Linked DNA regions of Homo sapiens: region 2 is linked to region 1. Evidence: promoter capture Hi-C in human tissues and cell types (Jung and others, 2019). All regions are on one chromosome and are shown on one strand. The core of a region is centred on a gene start or on the middle of the fragment in contact, and the rest is flanking DNA. Distances in the headings are between cores, read along the strand shown. Region 1 holds the start of ZNF136 (zinc finger protein 136). Region 2 overlaps ZNF44 (zinc finger protein 44).

What was found. Contacts are between HindIII fragments. The study calls those that stand out against the background at their distance.
Region 2: a fragment that was not itself captured here is called in contact with the fragment with the promoter of ZNF136 in region 1 in 4 of the 25 tissues and cell types used here (aorta, dorsolateral prefrontal cortex, lymphoblastoid cells and 1 more).

What each region holds. Positions count from the first base shown.
Region 1 is chr19:12,160,985-12,165,259 of GRCh38, forward strand. ZNF136 (zinc finger protein 136) reads left to right here and starts at 2,112. Exons shown (of 4, transcript NM_003437.5): 1 at 2,112-2,222. The coding sequence starts at 2,220. RefSeq lists enhancers at 1,953-2,042, 2,053-2,212. The HindIII fragment of the contact is 18,447 bases long and covers 1-4,275 here.
Region 2 is chr19:12,274,519-12,278,810 of GRCh38, forward strand. ZNF44 (zinc finger protein 44) reads right to left here. Exons shown (of 4, transcript NM_016264.4): 2 at 1,438-1,564; 3 at 455-515. Among named protein-coding and RNA genes, the nearest start is that of ZNF44, 18 kb to the right of the region's middle. The HindIII fragment of the contact is 9,813 bases long and covers 1-4,292 here.

The DNA.
Region 1 (4,275 bases), core at 862-3,361:
AAACTGTCTTGAAATTTTTCTCTTCTACTTTACGGTAAACACAGGAGGAAAGCAGGGACTCTGCTGGATTCTCTTTCGAACACTGGGATTGAGGGTGTTTGCCTCGTGGAACTGAACAATGTGGGTGAAAAGCAGGTGGAAAACTTGCAGGGGGCAGCATAGCCTGAGGCCGGTGATCCACACTGAGACTAATCTGGAGCCTGCAAAGGGAGGGAAAGGGAGCTCCCCCGATTGCTTCCTGGGCAGCCTGCCTTCCCCTGTAGGTAGTCTCCAGCTGCTCCGAACAGCTCCAGCTCCAGCTCCAGGAGTGTGGATTCTGAGAAGCTGCAGAGCCCTGGAAAGCAGGAACTTCACAGGCAAATGCACGTGCGGGTTTCTCTCCTTTCTGAGGTTGTACCTCTAGTTTCCCAAGGTAGTTTTCCGGAAAACTTTTTGTTTTTTGAGACGGAGTCTTGCTCTGTCACCCAGGCTGGAGTGCAGTGGCGCGATCTCGGCTCACTGGAACCTCTACCTCCCGGGTTCAAGCGATTCTTGTGCCTCAGCCTCCCCAGAAGCTGGGATTATAGGCGCCCGGCTAATTTTTGTAATTTTAGTAGAGACGGGGTTTCGCCATCTTGGCCAGGCTGGTTTTGAACTCCTGACCTCAAGTGATCCGCCCGCCTCGGCCTCTCAAAGTGTTGGGGATTACAGGCATGAACCACTGTGCCCGGCCTTGATTTTTCTATGTATAGAGTTGCTGCAGTCAGGCTGTAATTTGTATATATGAAGAAAATATGTAAAGATCATATTTAGAGACTCATTTAGGTAGCGTTCCAGAGAAATGGTTTATGAGCTAGAGAGGTTGGAATTTCAAGGGGCCTAAATTGACCACAGGTGAGAGTTTTCTGCTGGTGTAAATTATTAAGGTATTGAAGGAGGGAGCGTTCCCACATTGTGATGCTGTGACAGGAGGGCATGTTGAGCTCCCAGAGTTAAATCCTTAGGTTTCCTGCCTCATCATCAGGGTCTAATGTACTCTGTGGCTCCACTTCAGCAGTCACTGACTCTTAAGCTTGGGAATATGTTCTACCTTCTGAATTCATCTTTTCCTTTTTAAATGTTCTGAAGTGCCCTGCTTATCTGAGCTAGTTCAAATTTTCGCTTTACTTCCCTTTTGATTTCTTTACAGATTACGGAAATAGAACTTGTTTTTCCATGTATTTAATAATTTTATTCACTTGTTGGCAGTTTTTTATTTTCTTGGGTGAAAATGAGTAGATTGATTTGGGAGGCGAAAGTGGGAGGTTCACTTGAGGCTAGGAGTTCAAGACCAGCCTGGACAACAAACGAAATCCCGTCTCTACAAAAAATTAAAGAATTTGCCGGGCTTGGTGGCATGTACCTGTAGTCTCTACTACTCAGGGGACTGAAGCGGAAGGTTCGCTTGAACCCAGGAGATGGAGGCTGCAGTGAGCTATGATCATGCCATTGCACTCTAACCTGGGTGGCAGAGCTAGACCCTGTCTCAAATAAATAAATAAAGTAATAAATAAGTAAATAAAGTAATAAATAAGTAAATAAAGTAAAAAATAGAGAGAGATAAAGAGGTATGGTATGAGAAAGCCTTGGGCACGCTTCCCATATCCTCATCCCAAATTTCCGATCCCTGGGAATATCACGCCCTTTCTTCTGTTCCAGTCCTGCCTGGAACTCCCTGCGCACACCTGTGACTCCTCATGCAAGAGGTAGATGAAGAAATGACCCACTGAGTACAGGAAGTATCTCCTTTGGTAAACCCGGATTAAGTTCTGCTAAAATGCAAGTATCTCCCATCTCCCCATCCCCCGCAGACCAAGTACAGTGAAGGGGACGAGGGGAAGAAGTCCACCCTGCGTTTGAGGGCTGGGGCCAAGACCCCTCATTCCCGCTTCACTCATCTATGCTTCACATCTCCTGTCATTCACATCTGTCAAGATGCAGGGGGCAGAGCCCGAAGCTGTACCCAATCAGGGGCACCGGGGAGGAGCTCTGCGATCGGTCCAATCAGGCGCGCCGTCGGGGACGCAGCTGCAGACGTTCAACCTTCTCGCGGGATTTTCATTTCTCGCGTCTGCCGTACTTGGTTTCGCTTCGCTAGTCCCAGAGGCCCAGAGTGGCTCGCCTGGAGTCTCTGTGGCGCGGTTTCCTGTACCTGCCTTGGGATCCGGAGGGAGGAAGCTGGGACACCCGGGAGTCAGGAAATGGTGAGTGTGTCGGGCCCTGCGTCCCGAGACAGGGAGGAGGGGCTGGTTGGACGACCGGAACTGGCTGTGGCGCGGCCCGGGCCTTCCCGTGGGCGACTCTGGGTCTGCGTACCGAGTCCCTCTGGCGCAGCTCAGCCCTTGGTACCCTCGGCCTCAGGGTGGGGCTGGGCCGGCAGCCGGGACCCCGGGCGTCCTCGTCCCGCCCTGTGCCGCGATTGCGGCCCCGGCCCCGAAGACCCAAGTCTCTTCAGATTGTGCGGGGCCCACGCGAGGGTCATGGGGTGGGGGAAATCCTGACTTGTGCGTGGAAGGAGCTGTGGTGTATGAGGTTCCCAGTTCCTTTTCTCTCCACAGAGGACACCCGTTTTTCCCTGAGTTTTCTAAGTGTATGGGATGCAGGGTCCCAAATCCTCACTCTGTCCCCCAGCCTGCTGTTTCCAGGGCTTGCAGTAAATCCCCAAATTTCCTGTTCTCTTTTCGCTTTTCCAAACGCCAACCTCTCCCCTTCCATTCACGACATTAGCAACCGTTTCTCCTATATTCTACATTTCAGATATTGTGCTTTCATTGTTTATTTTTCAACAAAGCAATGGATTACTCTTTCATCAAGGTTTGTTTTCTGTTCATAGCCTTGACACTCCGCTGTAAGAAACCTTTGTGCTTGTCCTTTTGTCTCCTCTATGCACAGATACCTCATCAGAATGTCTTTGAGTTGAGGTTCCCCTTTGGAATCTTTACAGGGTGATATGCCTTCAGCGCCCCCTCCTATTTATTTTTTCCTGGTTCTGGGTTTCAAAACTGTCTGGGGCTGACTCAAGCTGCCCACAGCTGCCAAGTCTCTTGGAGGATCTAGTGAATATTGGGTCTTGGGTGAGTCTTCCTAGAGGACAGTTGAAATAGAAGGCTGGGAGAATGCCCTGGGACTAGGATAAATCTAGCATACCCTGCTTCTAAATAGCCAACCTCTGGGGGCACTCAGCTTTTCCTCCCCCAACCCCAGTTTCCATCCTTTGGAGACACACTGGTGGTCAGCCAATCAGATGCTGGTATTGAGGATTGAGAAAAGAAAATTTTTTGTGTGTTTTGAAAGAGTCTCGCTCTGTCGCCTAGGCTGGAGTGCAGTGACGTGATCTCGGCTCACTGCAACCTCCATCTTCTGGGTTCAAGCGATTCTCCTGCCTCAGCCTCCCCTGTAGTTGGGACCACAGTTTTGCGCCACCACTCCCAGATAACTTTTTTTTTTTTTTTTTTTTTTTGAGACGGAGTCTCTCTGTCGCCCAAGCTGGAGTGCAGTGGCGTGATGTCGGCTCACTGCAACCTCTGCCTCCCGGATTCAAGCGATTCTCCTGCCTCAGCCTCCCCAGTACCTGGGACTACAGGCGCATGCCACCACGCCCGGCTAATTTTTTGTGTTTTTAGTAGAGACGGAGTTTCACCTTGTTAGCCAGGATGGTCTTGATCTCCTGACCTCGCGATCCGCCTGCCTTGGCCTCCCAGAGTGCTGGGATTACAGGCGTAACTGTACCCGGCCTCAAAAAAATAATTTTCGTCTGATAAATGTGGGTCCTTTTAAATGAACGGGCACATAGAGACATTCAAGTGATACAGCAATCACCTTCTAACTCCCTGAAGCTATGAATTCATCTTTTGAAACTGCTATTGCCACAAGTAGGTATAATCAACTTACTAATGCAACACGGGACCCTGGAACCCACACCCTATAGCTTAACAGTGCATAGCCACGCGCTTATCAATGTTACTTCTGTAAATCAGTGAGAATTCCTGACAAACAACTTTGTATCAGCCCACATCCTGTCCCCCTTTTTCAGACACTTTGGGTCATATTTTGTGTTTCAGCCTCTACTTTTTAGGTCGACAAGGGAAAAGACGGAAATGATTCCTGTCCTTTGTATTCTCTCAGCCTTGTGAAGGGAGAAAAACTATCTCAGCGAGGTGGTGGAATAACCTGAAAAACAAAATGCACTTTGGGTACACAGTGTCGCGTAATGCAGTGTCTCTTGGGCGGGTGGTCACTGAGCATTTCAGTGAGCAC
Region 2 (4,292 bases), core at 1,193-3,692, 110 kb after region 1:
CCACCTCGGCCTCCCAAAGTGCTGGGATTACAGGCATAAGCCACTGCGCCTGGCCTTTTTTTTTTTTTTAAGACAGGGTCTTGCTCTGTCACTTAGGTTAGAGTGCACCAGTGCCATCACAGATCACTGCAGCCTCAAACTCCCAGGCTCAAGTGATCCTCCTGTCTCAGCCTCCCAAAGTGCTGGGATTGCGGGCATGAGCTACCACACCCAGCCTCATATGGGAAATCTTAATATTGTTTCCATGGGAACTACTTTGCAAACACTGAATAGCTATGTCACATTTAATAATATATTTATGTCACATTTAATAATATATTTTTATAGAGAAATTTTTCTAAGAATAAATAAATTTAAGCTGGGCTTGTTCATAATCTTTGCTTCTTTTTAAAAGTTCTTGTCATTCTCAGAAACACTGCAAGGACATCACCTGTCTCTTATAAGTACAAATTACCTTGGATTTCTCCTGAGATTTTGGTGCTGATCATCAATGTTCTGGTTTTCCCATTTCATTCCTAAAAGAGAGATCCAGAAAATTCACTATAAATTATTACAAAATGATACAAAAATTGTTAAGATTTTATGTACACTACAATCATGTATGATTCATTCATTGAACTATAGTTGACTCCTGAACAACACAGGTTTGAACTGCACAAGTCCATTTATATATAAATGTTCTTCAGTCTCTGCTACCCCTGAGACAGCAATATCAACCCCTCTTCTTAGTTAGCCTACTCAATGTGAAGATGAGGATGAAAACCTTCATGATGATCCATTTCAACTTAATGCAGAGTAAATATAGTTTTTCTTCCTTAAGATTTTCTTATTAATATTTACTTTCTCTAGGCCGGGCATAGTGGCTCATGCCTGTAATCCCAGCACTTTGGGAGGCCGAGGTGGGCAGATCACAAGGTCAGGAGATCGAGACCATCCTGGCTAACATGTTGAAACCCTGTCTCTACTAAAAATACAAAAAATTAGCTGGGCATGGTGGCGGGCGCCTGTAGTCCCAGCTACTCAGGAGGCTGAGGCAAGAATGGTGTGAACCCGGGAGGCGGAGCTTGTAGTGAGCCAAGATGGAGCCACTGCACTCCAGCCTGGGCGACAGAGCAAGACTCCATCTCAAAAAAAAAGAAAAAAAATTTACTTTCTCTAACTTACTTTATTCTGAGAATACAGTATGCAATACATATGACATATATGTGCTCGTCACTTGTTTATATGACTGATAAGGCTGCTGGTCAAAAGTAGGTTAAGCTGTGGCAGACAAAAGATTATATGAGGACATACAACAGGTTGGGGCCTGGCACTTCACCCTGTGTTGTTCAGGAATGAACTGTATCCCTTTTCCATATTTCAAATCACTGAACAGCATTGATGACCACAAAACAAATGTCTCTAATTGACCAAATGAAGACATGATGTCATCCATACCTATACAGTTCAGGTTCCTAATGGTTTCTCGCATCACATCTCTGTAGAGATTCTTCTGTGATGGACCCAGCAAAGCCCACTCCTCATGGGTGAAGTTCACAGCCACATCCTCAAAGGCCACTGAGTCCTGAAACATCCCATATGTCCAGAAAAGGAAGGTTGAAACTCACAGTACTGAGAACCTATACTCACCTTCATAAACTTCCCATGATGCTGTGGTTTCCAAGCATTTATTCAATGACGTGGTAAATCCACTCTTATTCTGTGTCTGCACTCACTGTCTGATGCTGGAATTCTGATGCTGGAATTGGGCTTGCTAAAATAACAGTTGAGTAGGAACATATCTCTTATTGGTGAATTATGCAAGTGAATCTTATTGCCTGGATTACTCCTAATGTCTGTTTCTACAGTGGGTCTGTAGTCCTTGTCATGACAAAGTCCTACCACCTACTGTGCAAAAGAGAGTTACAATTAGCAGTCCTGAGACGGCATATCCTTACAACTGCTTGTTCACAATGTTGAACCTTTCGTGGTGTCTAGACAATGTATTTAGGGGAGGGCCCCGTAAGCATAACTAATAAAGGGGGTGGAGTGTGCCTAAACTATTTGTGTAAAAATTATGGTATTTGCTTAACTCCTAACTTCCCTCTGAGAGTTTGGAATTGTATTACATCCTCAGCAGAGGAAGTGTACCCAATCAGCCACTGCTAGGTTTGAATGTCTTCCCCTCCAAAATGCAGGCTGAAACTGAATCTCCAATGTGGAAGTAATCAAAGGTAGTGGTTTAAGAGGTGAGTGGGTCTTGAGGGTTTGGAACACATGGATGGATTAATCCACTCATGTATGAATGGCTTAATAAATAAACTGGTTATCACAGATGAGGTTCTGGTGTCCTTATGAGAAGAGGAAGATACTTCAGCTAGACACTCAGCCCCCTCATCATGTAATGCCCTGTACCACCCAGGGACTCTACAGAGTCCCCATCAGCAAGAAGATTCCCACCAGATGCCCACTTTGACCTTACTTGATCTTCCCAGCTTTCAGAACTGCAAAAAATAAATATCATTTCTTATAGATTACCCCAGTTCTGGTATCCTGTTGTAAGTAACAAAAAAACAGTCTTATAGACTAAGACATACACAAAGAAACACTCTAGGCACAGGGTCCCTAATGTGCAACTCTGGTAGATGATATTTCATATTTTTGTTGTTGTTGTTTTTTCAATGTCTTACTTGGGGGATTTAGCCTATCCTACGTGATTACACAGAGAGAATATTTGGAAGCTGGTGACTGGTTCCCTGTAGATCAAATGTAGTTAAGTATGACAAAAGACTAATAAAAGAGATTTTACCAACTAAATAGAAAAAATTGTAACTTTCTACTGGGTAATGTCGAAGGAGAAAGAAAAGAAGAGGACAGACTGCAAATGTTCTTAGACAGAATTCAGTGTCAGCTTTCATGAATATCAATTATATTCCATAAATCTCAACAGCAGACATTTAATAATCAATAACATTACATAAACCAATTTTTATAGAAGTCATAAATGTCTAAAGATGCTTAAAAAAAACCTTCTCATCAAGAAAGTAGACAGCTTTACAAAAACAAACAGAAGATTTAAAACTGTAATTTTTCACATCCCATACTATTAACAGAGAGAAAAAGATACATAAACAGGAAAGTGAAAAATGATAGAAAAGCCTTGTATTGTTTTTTCTTTGGCCCCATCTCTGCCCATCTCATTGCCAGTCCTGAAGACAGCAGAGTTCCCAGTGTAGAACTCTGATCACCACAGAGTGTACAGATCACATTTTGTTTCCACATTATTGCCTTTGTATTTTTGAATCAGTCTGGGGACTAACCGAAGGTCTGAAACAAGGCTCTCTTTTCTATTTCATCTACAACAGAATCCAATCAGAGTCAAACTGGGCAGGAACTACTTTAAAATGTTGTAAAATACACAAAAAGTGTGCAACCACCTAGGACAACACAAGATGACTAAGACATACATTAGAAGGCCAGGTGTGGTGGCTCACACCTGTAATCCCAGTACTTTGGGAGGCCAAGGTGTTGGGAACAGGCCCCCAAATCTAGCCATAAACAAAATCTCTGCAGCACTGTGACATGCTCGTGATGGCTATGACGCACATGCTGAAGGTTGTTGGTTTACCGGAATGAGGGCAAGGAACACCTGGCCCACCCAGGGTGGAAAACTGCTTAAGGCGTTCCTGAACCACAAACAATAGCATGGGCCATCTGTGCCTTAAGGACAAGTTCCTGCTGCAGATAACTAGCCAGAGCCCTTCCCTTTGTTTCCCGTAAGGAAGGCTTTTAGTTAGTCTATAATCTATAGAAACAACGCTTATCACTGGCTTACTGTCAATAAATATGTGGGTAAAACTCTGTTTGTGGCTCTCAGCTCTGAAGGCTGTCAGCCCCCTGATTTCCCACTCCACACTCTAAATTTCTGTGTGTGTGTGTCTTTAATTCCTCTAGTGCCGCTGGGTTAGGCTCTCCACGACTGAGCTGGTCTCGGCACCAAGGGGGTCAGATTGCTTAAAGGCAAGGAGTTCAAGACCAGCCTGGGCAATGTGGGGAGACCTCATCTCTACAAAAAATAAACAAAATTAGGTGGGTATGGTGGCGCATGCCTGTAGTCCCAGCTACTCAGGAAAGTAGGAGAATTGCTTGAGCCTAGGAGGTTGAGGCTGCAGTGAACCACGATTGTGCCACTGCACTCAAGTCTGAGTGAAAGAGTGACACTATTTCAAGGAAAAAAAAAAAAGACATATATTAGACCATCTAAGTCCCAGGAGAAAAGGCTAGGGTATAATTTTTCTTTACAAATAAGCATA